2 separate regions of the Homo sapiens genome follow, and region 2 is linked to region 1. The links are contacts of gene promoters, found by promoter capture Hi-C in blood cells and fetal thymus (Javierre and others, 2016). All regions are on one chromosome and are shown on one strand. Each heading gives the region's core, a stretch centred on a gene start or on the middle of the fragment in contact. The rest is flanking DNA. Distances are from core to core; before and after follow the strand shown. Region 1 holds the start of H2AC15 (H2A clustered histone 15). Region 2 overlaps BTN1A1 (butyrophilin subfamily 1 member A1).

Region 1 (4,186 bases), core at 1,067-3,566:
CAAGACTTAAATCTAGGAAATAAAAATGTGTGAAGAGACTCAAAAATTAATGTATTTCAATGGACTGGAGATCCTGTAGAAATTCATTTTCATTAACATGTCTGTATGAGGAAAACAGTAGCTTATATAAGTTTAGGTGGAGAGGAATAGAAGGCCCTCTCTATAGCTAGGAGGACTTGGTGATCTGAGAAGGAAAGGAGTGATCTTGGTGAAAGAAAGGAAGCAGGAAAAACTGACAGGAACAGGAGTATATGACCATGATATAATAAAAAACCTGACTTACAATGTCCTTCATTCATACTGTTTTTAAATAACACGTTCTAAAGTAATCTCACACCCTAACCCCAACCCTTTCCCATCATTTATATAAACAGTCCATTATGACATGTATTCTTTGCCCAAGCCAACTTGAAGCTCCTTTTGGATAGAGACTTTATGTATCTGGATTAATATTGTATTCCCATTTAGGAGAGTGCCTGGCACACCATAGATGCTCAGAAAGATTCAATTGAACTCGAATAGGTAGGCCAAACACACACGGGGTCCTAAATTGTGCAGAAGGGTCAGATACCTAAATTTTGCTTCCATGGTCTTATGAAGTATAAACTAAAAGCCCAAGTAAGGAGCAAAGGTTAGTTTACCAATTTTATCTCTGGAACCCAGGTACACTGAAAAGTATTATTTAGCTAGCTTTCAGTCCTCTGTAATACAGAAAGTAAATATCTGACACTAGGTTCATTTGAAACACTCTTGCTCTGTCACACAAGCTGGACTGCAGTGGTGCAATCATAGCTCATTGCAGCCTCGAACTCCTGGGCTCAAGTGATCCTTCTGGTCTCAGCCTCCCGAGTAGCTAGGACTACAGGCTATGAGACGCCAGGCACGGTTAGTTATTTTACTTTTGTAAAGATCAGGCTGGCTTCGAACTCCAAGGCTCTAGCGGTCCTTCCGCCTCGGCTTCCCAAAGCGGTTCTGTTTACCGGATGGTGCCAAACAGTTCCAGGCTCTTGGTGCCCGGTAGAAATTGGACGACACACACACAGATAGCAAAGCAAAGCAGCAAAAGTTTAGTAAACAGAGTATTACACTCTCGGGGGTGGGAGAGAGCGGACTGACCTCTGCGAGGTGAGATCAGCGTCAGCTTGCTGTAGTTTGAGTCATTTTATGTGTGTGCGTGCGTGTGTGTATGTTTTCTGTTCCCAGTGCTGCCTAATCTATAGCCAGCATCTGCCCTTTTATTGATAGGTTTGTTGCTTACTTTGTCCTCTGTGGCTTGTGCCTCTATCTTATAATCTTAAATATATGCATGATATGTAGCCCATATGCATGAACCTTAAGTAGCTGATTATCATACGGGCTTTTGTTAAGGATACTTTTCCTCTCTAATACGCATGCCCATCTCTGAAGAGCTGCCTCTTAAACTGGTTTGTTCCAGATCTTGCCGGCCACGAGGTCCTTGCTCACATTATCTCTTTTGTTTCGGCTGCAAAAGGTTCACTGCTTGTTATCTCGCTTCTTGTTCACCCGCCCATCTACCTTACTTCTGCCCTTTGCTTTTACTTATTCTGCCCTCTAACTTTCAGCTCCCTTTGTTATTCTCTTGCCTCACTTTTCTTATTGTTTCAGCTGTATTGCAGGCGCGAGCTGCCGCGCCTAAATTTCTTGATGTACCGTAAACATTTCAATGTCTACTTTCTATCTCAAAACAATGTGGTGTAAAAGCCGTTTAGTTTTGCTTCATCTCCATACAGCATTCCAGTGCCATTGCAAAATGACTCGACTATCAGATAAAACTGAACACAGCTCTACTTGGTGAAAAAGTAGGTGGCTCTGAAAAGAACCTTTTTGGTTTGGACCGAGGTATGAGTAATGAACTGCTCCAGCCCCGCTACTTGCCCTTGGCCTTGTGGTGGCTCTCAGTTTTCTTAGGCAGCAGCACGGCCTGGATATTGGGCAGGACACCACCCTGGGCGATGGTCACTTTACCAAGCAGCTTGTTGAGCTCCTCGTCGTTGCGGATGGCCAGCTGCAAGTGGCGCGGGATGATGCGGGTCTTCTTGTTGTCGCGGGCCGCGTTGCCAGCCAGTTCCAGGATCTCGGCGGTTAGGTACTCCAACACCGCCGCCAGGTACACCGGCGCTCCGGCACCGACCCGCTCAGCGTAGTTGCCCTTGCGGAGCAGTCGGTGCACTCGGCCCACTGGGAACTGAAGACCCGCCCTTGAAGAACGGGTCTTAGCCTTGGCGCGAGCTTTGCCGCCCTGCTTGCCACGTCCCGACATGACGTAAAAAATTCAATCAGTAACGTTCCTGAGACTGACGTAACGCTAAAGCTCCGCTACTTATAGTCAACAGAGGCACGAAAACTAAGCTGTGCTATTGGCTAACATTACAGTTTCGCTTTAACCAATGGGATTGCGGTTTTGAAAAACACTTATTTTGATTGGACAAAGTTAATATACGTTTCCAGGACTCACCACTGGTTAAACGCACAACTTCATTCTCTACCCCACTTGCGTTAAGAAGCAGTGAATAAGCGGTAGGTTGACAGAGCTACCGTCTTCCTGTTTTTTTCCTCCAATTTTCCGGCAGTTACTCCCAGTCATGCCCGAGCCCTCAAAGTCCGCTCCTGCCCCGAAGAAAGGCTCCAAGAAGGCAGTGACAAAGGCCCAGAAGAAGGACGGCAAGAAGCGCAAGCGCAGCCGCAAGGAGAGCTACTCCGTGTACGTGTACAAGGTGCTGAAGCAGGTCCACCCCGACACCGGTATCTCGTCCAAGGCCATGGGCATCATGAACTCCTTCGTCAATGACATCTTCGAGCGCATCGCCGGCGAGGCTTCCCGCCTGGCGCATTACAACAAGCGCTCGACCATCACCTCCAGGGAGATCCAGACGGCCGTGCGCCTGCTGCTGCCAGGGGAGCTGGCCAAGCACGCGGTGTCGGAGGGCACCAAGGCCGTCACCAAGTACACCAGTTCCAAGTGAGCCCGCCCACCGCGGAACGTTCGGTCAGTCTCGGCCCACACCCCAAAGGCTCTTTTCAGAGCCACTCAGTCTTCCCAAAGAGAACTGGCACTCACTGTTCTTACAGCAGGTATTTCTTACTTGCTACAAAGACGATTTCCAAGATTCCTTTAGCCTTGTTAGAAACTAATTTTGGCTCAAGCCTCTAATCCCGGTTCGGGAAACCGAAGCGGGTGGCTCACCTGAGGTTAGAAGTTCGAGACGAGCCTAGCCAACATGGTGAAACCCGTCTCTACTAAAAGTACAAAAAAATAGCTGGGCGTGGTGGCGGACGCCTGTAATCCCAGCTACCCGGGAAGCTGAGGCAGGAGAATCGCTTGAACCCGGCAGATGGAGGTTGCAGTGAGCCGAGATCGGGCCATTGCACCCCAGCCTGGGCAGTAAGAGCGAAACTCTGTCTCAAAAAAGAAAGAAAAAGAAAAGAAATTAATTAGCACTGCAGTGTACTGCATGTTGCAGCAACGCTTGAGACAATTTTATATCTGAAGAAGGATGAGGTTTATCATCAGACAAACCTAGTAAAGGGAAAATTCAGTTCCTGTTGACCCCAAAGAAAATATAATACTTAAGTGTCACTGGTAAAATATCCACAGTGCTTCCGGCGCTCTGTCCCTAAACTTCATGTGTACTTTAGTAATGAAGCAGTTGGCACACACACAAACGTACAAATCGACTTGTTTGTTTTGAGAGTGGTGCTGTTTCTCCTCCCTTGTCCCCAGTTTGGATTTGCTAAATATTAAGATAGAAAGGCAGTAGAAAAAAGTTTGAACCCAGTTTACAGCACCGTACACGTCAATCGGGCTGAGTTGATGTCAATGGCCAATCCCGACACTGCGAGGGCAGTTTGAAACTTGGCCACCGTTTTCTCTGGTGAGTGTTCTAGTTGGGAAAATTCTTGGCAGTGCAGGTTTTTTGGAGGAATCTTGCTGTCTTACTCATTCCCATAATTCTCTTGTGTGGAATTCCTATTTATGAACATAGTTTCTATTCCCTACTTTTTCTGTTAGGGTCTGCTCCATGTTTTCTTGTCTGTGTCACTTGCGTTTACTGTATCTCTAGTAATTGGAAGAAATGTTAAAAGAAAAAAAAATAGAGGAGGAGAAGGGCTGTTCTCCATTGTTTTCCCCCACCCCCAACTCAGGAAATCAAAATGAGTGTCTTCA
Region 2 (4,186 bases), core at 754-3,253, 1.3 Mb before region 1:
GTATGGATCAGTTACTTTGGAAACCATCAGATTCATTCTCAAAATCTCTTTTAGGTTGATGTCGCCGGGGAGGGACGACTATCTGGGCGGGAGGCGAGGGGGGGTAAAAGAATTTACCAAGACAGTTGTAAAGAAAGGCAGATTTACTTTTAAAAGTATGAAAATACTTTTCGAGGAGGCAAAAGGCAGGATCAGCAAAAGAGAAGCTGACTGCCAGGAAACAAAGGCTTGCTGGATAATTTATAGAATAGTTTTTATGCTGTCTGTTGAAGATGGCTTTGTGCAGTATCTATAAGGCAAAGGTTGCAGTGAGCTAACTTGCAGGTGTTTGGTGATAGTTGGACACAGGAAGGATGACTGTGAGTTATTTGCACAGGAGGGCTGTGTACTGGACCATGAAGAAAGGCAGACTTGCAGCTTATCTGCCTTATCTCTTTGTTTTCCCCTGATTAGGACTCCACAGCTAGAAGGTACTGAAGGTCCTACAGTAGGAAATCAGTGAGAAAGGGTTTTGAGTTGAACATGGAGAGAACAGTGCAATGTCTTTATTGTAGAACTTTATTTCAATTATCTCCAGCCCTTTTTCAATAATAGGGTAAGCATTTCTTCATGAAATAATTAAATACATATAAGAGTTATATAACATTCTTTTATACAAGTACACCATAATTTACTTCATCGAGTCCCTGAATTGTACATTTAAATTGTATTTCTCACCATTACACATCTTATGGCTGTGGTGAGCATACCACACACTTTAAGGCTGGCTTATGGATTAGTTTCTAAAGACTGACATCCTAAGATTAGAGAGCATGGCGGTTTGTCACATTCCTGATTCATATAGAAAAGATTCTGTTCTTGTTCCCTTTTTTGCTTCAAGCCAGAATTCAAAGGGAAACAATAAAGAAAATAATAAGCTTTGAGGAGGAAAGTACGCATTGAGGTCTGACTTTCTCAATTCCTAGTGAATGACATCAAGCAAATCTCTTTCTGATTTTTACTGTAAAACTGAGGATGTTTTTATCTAAGATTATTTTTCAAGAATAAAATAGTCTGGGACCAGTGGCCAACTCCTATAATCTCAGCGCTTTGGGAAGCAGAGGCAGGAGGATCTCTTGAGCCAAGAAATTCAAGGTTACAGTAAGCTGATGGTTGCCACTGCACTCCAGCCTGGACAATAGAGTGTGCTGTCAAAAAAAGAAAAAAAAAAAGTGGGATGTGGTGTCTCACGCCTGTAATCCCAGCATTTTGGGAGGCCAAGGCGGGTGACTCACTTTTGATCAGGATATTCAAGACCAGCCTGGCCAACATGGCAAAACCCCATCTCTACTAAAAATACAAAAAGAAATTAGCTGGGTCATACCTGTAATCCCAGCTACTCAAGGAAAATCGCTTGAACCTGGGAGGCAGAGGTTGCAGTGAGCTGAGACTGCACTACTGCACTCCAGCCTGGGCAACAGAGTGAGACTCGTCTCTAACAAAAAAAAAAAGAATAAAATAAAATTAGACAATATATGAGAAATGACCTCGCCAATTCTAAAAACATTATAGACTTATTAGATACTATACTGTGCCTTAAACTGATCTAAAACATATAATATACAAACATATTGCCTTTCACATATATATCATATATGTATATATTATCTAAATCTATATGCATATATTATATATATATATACATAGATATATATTCAAGTAAATATAAAGTTTGAAAAATACTTGGGTGAAATGTGGGTCCCTGCTTCACAACAGGGTCCCCCAGTTGCAGCATCATGTATAATTCAAATTTTGACATTTTGTTTTTAGGGAAGAAGTATCTTAAAGCTTGATTATAAAAACATAGAAATTTGATGGCATAAAATGTGTTACCTTTTATGAGTGGCAGACACCCTTGAGAATCTGCTGAAAGTGGCAGCTCCTTCCATGAAAAGAATATATATTCTTGTATATACACACATTCTTGGAATGTGGATTTTAACCAGTGGTTGTGGAAATGTGTTTAAGAGCTCTTTTATGCAGCTCAGTGTTTTTCTGTACCATGTGGAATTACAGAAAAAAATAGGCTAAACACACAAGAAAAGCAGCTTTATGTTTATATATAACAGGCCACAATTATGTGAGGGAATATGAAGTTGAGACCATTTAAGAAAATTTCTGAATCAACATCATAGATAAAGAAAGCTTAAATTGTCAACTATAATCTCAAGCCAAAGAATCGCCAATCCTCTCCTCAAGGATATTCCTCTGTTCATCCTTAAATACCCAGTCCTATTTCTCCTCCTCCCCACCAAAGTCTTCTCATAATGCTCTCAGCCTAGACCACTAACCCACCTCTGAGTTATTGGTCTTAGTGTTCCTGCTGGCTGGACAAGCACCCCCAAGTCTGCCCACCAAACTGCTGCAAACATTTCAAAGGCTTGATCCCAACAAGGCATCCTTCTCTGATAAGGTATATGAAATTCCTTTTATTGGTACTTCAATTTCCTTTAAAAAAAAAAAAAAACTTTTTTAGAAACAGCATTTCACTCTGTCACCCAGGCTGGAGTGCAGTGGTGCCATCACAGCTCACTGCAGCCTTGAACTCCTGAACTCAAGCAATCCTCCAACCTCAGCCTCCCAAGTAGCTAGGAATACAGGCAAGAACCACCATGCCCAAAGAGATGGGGTCTCATTGTGTTGCCCAGGCTGGTCTTGATCTCCTGGACTCAAGTAATCCTGCCTCAGCCTCCCAAAGTGCTGACATTACAGACATAAACCACTGTGCCTGGCCCTCAGTTTCCTTGTATATTGAAATATGGAGATGAGTTCTTCCCCCTACTAGTCCACTTGTGCCTTTCTGTCTCTCTCTTTCTCAAACTATGTAGCTCTCTGGTTATAAGGCTCCCAAAAGGGGTCCGCTAAAACATTAAGTCCAGATTCTCTCTCCATAGCTCTGGGCTCTGACCCTCACATCAGTATGCAAGTTCAAGAGAATGGAGAAATCTGTCTGGAGTGCACCTCAGTGGGATGGTACCCAGAGCCCCAGGTGCAGTGGAGAACTTCCAAGGGAGAGAAGTTTCCATCTACATCAGAGTCCAGGAATCCTGATGAAGAAGGTTTGTTCACTGTGGCTGCTTCAGTGATCATCAGAGACACTTCTGCGAAAAATGTGTCCTGCTACATCCAGAATCTCCTTCTTGGCCAGGAGAAGAAAGTAGAAATATCCATACCAGGTTAGTGGAACCAATGCTGCTGGATTCCTATGTTGACACAGCTTCAGAGCCACACCACCTGGGACACCTGCCCAGATGTGACCTCATGGCAGAGTTGTCTACTTTCCCCACCTAAGCTCTTTTCCAGTGACTTAAGGGAACCCCACCAACTTTATTAGAAGAGTTAAGATACTGAAGACATAAACCTACCTTGATCTCAAATAAATTTCAGATTATTTATCTATTTATTTTTTGAGACAGTGTCTCACTCTGTTGCCTAGACTGGAGTGCAGCAGCAGAATGATCTCAGCTCACTGCAAGCTCCGCTTCCCAGGTTCAAGCGATTCTCCTGCCTCAGCCTCCAGAATAGCTGGGACGACAAGTGCACACCACCGTGCCCAACTAATTTTGTGTATTTTTAGCGAAGGCAGGGTTTCACCATGTTCCCCAGGCTGGTCTTGAACTTCTGGCCTCAAGCAATCCACCTGCCTCGGCCTCCCAAAGTGCTGGGATTATAGGTGTGAGCCATCACACCCAGTGAAATTCCAGATTTTCCATTTCAGGAGATCTAAGTGAGATAGAGAAGCTTTGTCCCTGGAGGCCTTCCTGATCCAGAGCCTTCTCTCCTCAAGTAAACAAAAAGACTAAGTTGGCCGGGCGTGGTGGCTCACGCCTGTAATCCCAGCACTTTGTGAGGCCGAGACAGGCAGATCACAAGGTCAGGAGATCGAGACCATACTGGCCAACATGGTGAAACCCCGCCTCTACTAAAAATACAAAAAAATTAGCCAGGCATGGTGGCGGGTGCCTGTAGTCCCAGCTACTTGGGAGGCTGAAGCAGGAGAATGGTGTGAACCCGGGAGGCAGAGCTTGCAGTGAGCTGAGATTGCGCCACTGAACTCCACTCCAGCCTGGGTGACAGAGCGAGACTGCATCTCAAAAAAAAAAAAAAAGACTAAGTTATTTTTCTACTTTTGCCATTTCCACCCATA

What was found. The method cuts DNA at HindIII sites, captures the fragments that hold promoters and counts their contacts. A CHiCAGO score of 5 or more calls a contact.
Region 2: a fragment that was not itself captured here is called in contact with the fragment with the promoter of H2AC15 in region 1 in 1 of 17 cell types (naive CD8 T cells); the score reaches 5.0 in naive CD8 T cells.

What each region holds. Positions count from the first base shown.
Region 1 is chr6:27,836,059-27,840,244 of GRCh38, forward strand. It overlaps H2AC15 (H2A clustered histone 15), which reads right to left and starts at 2,317. Exons shown (of 1, transcript NM_003510.3): 1 at 1,822-2,317. The coding sequence starts at 2,281. The coding sequence ends at 1,889. It overlaps H2BC15 (H2B clustered histone 15), which reads left to right and starts at 2,511. Exons shown (of 1, transcript NM_003520.4): 1 at 2,511-3,052. The coding sequence starts at 2,604. The coding sequence ends at 2,984. RefSeq lists enhancers at 447-1,384, 1,473-1,562, 1,633-1,682, 1,953-2,062, 2,133-2,222 and 3 more. The HindIII fragment of the contact is 16,643 bases long and covers 1-4,186 here.
Region 2 is chr6:26,501,992-26,506,177 of GRCh38, forward strand. It overlaps BTN1A1 (butyrophilin subfamily 1 member A1), which reads left to right. Exons shown (of 8, transcript NM_001732.3): 4 at 2,934-3,215. All of the region lies in intron 1 of LOC107986583 (a long non-coding RNA gene), which reads right to left. Among named protein-coding and RNA genes, the nearest start is that of BTN1A1, 3.8 kb to the left of the region's middle. The HindIII fragment of the contact is 357 bases long and covers 1,826-2,182 here.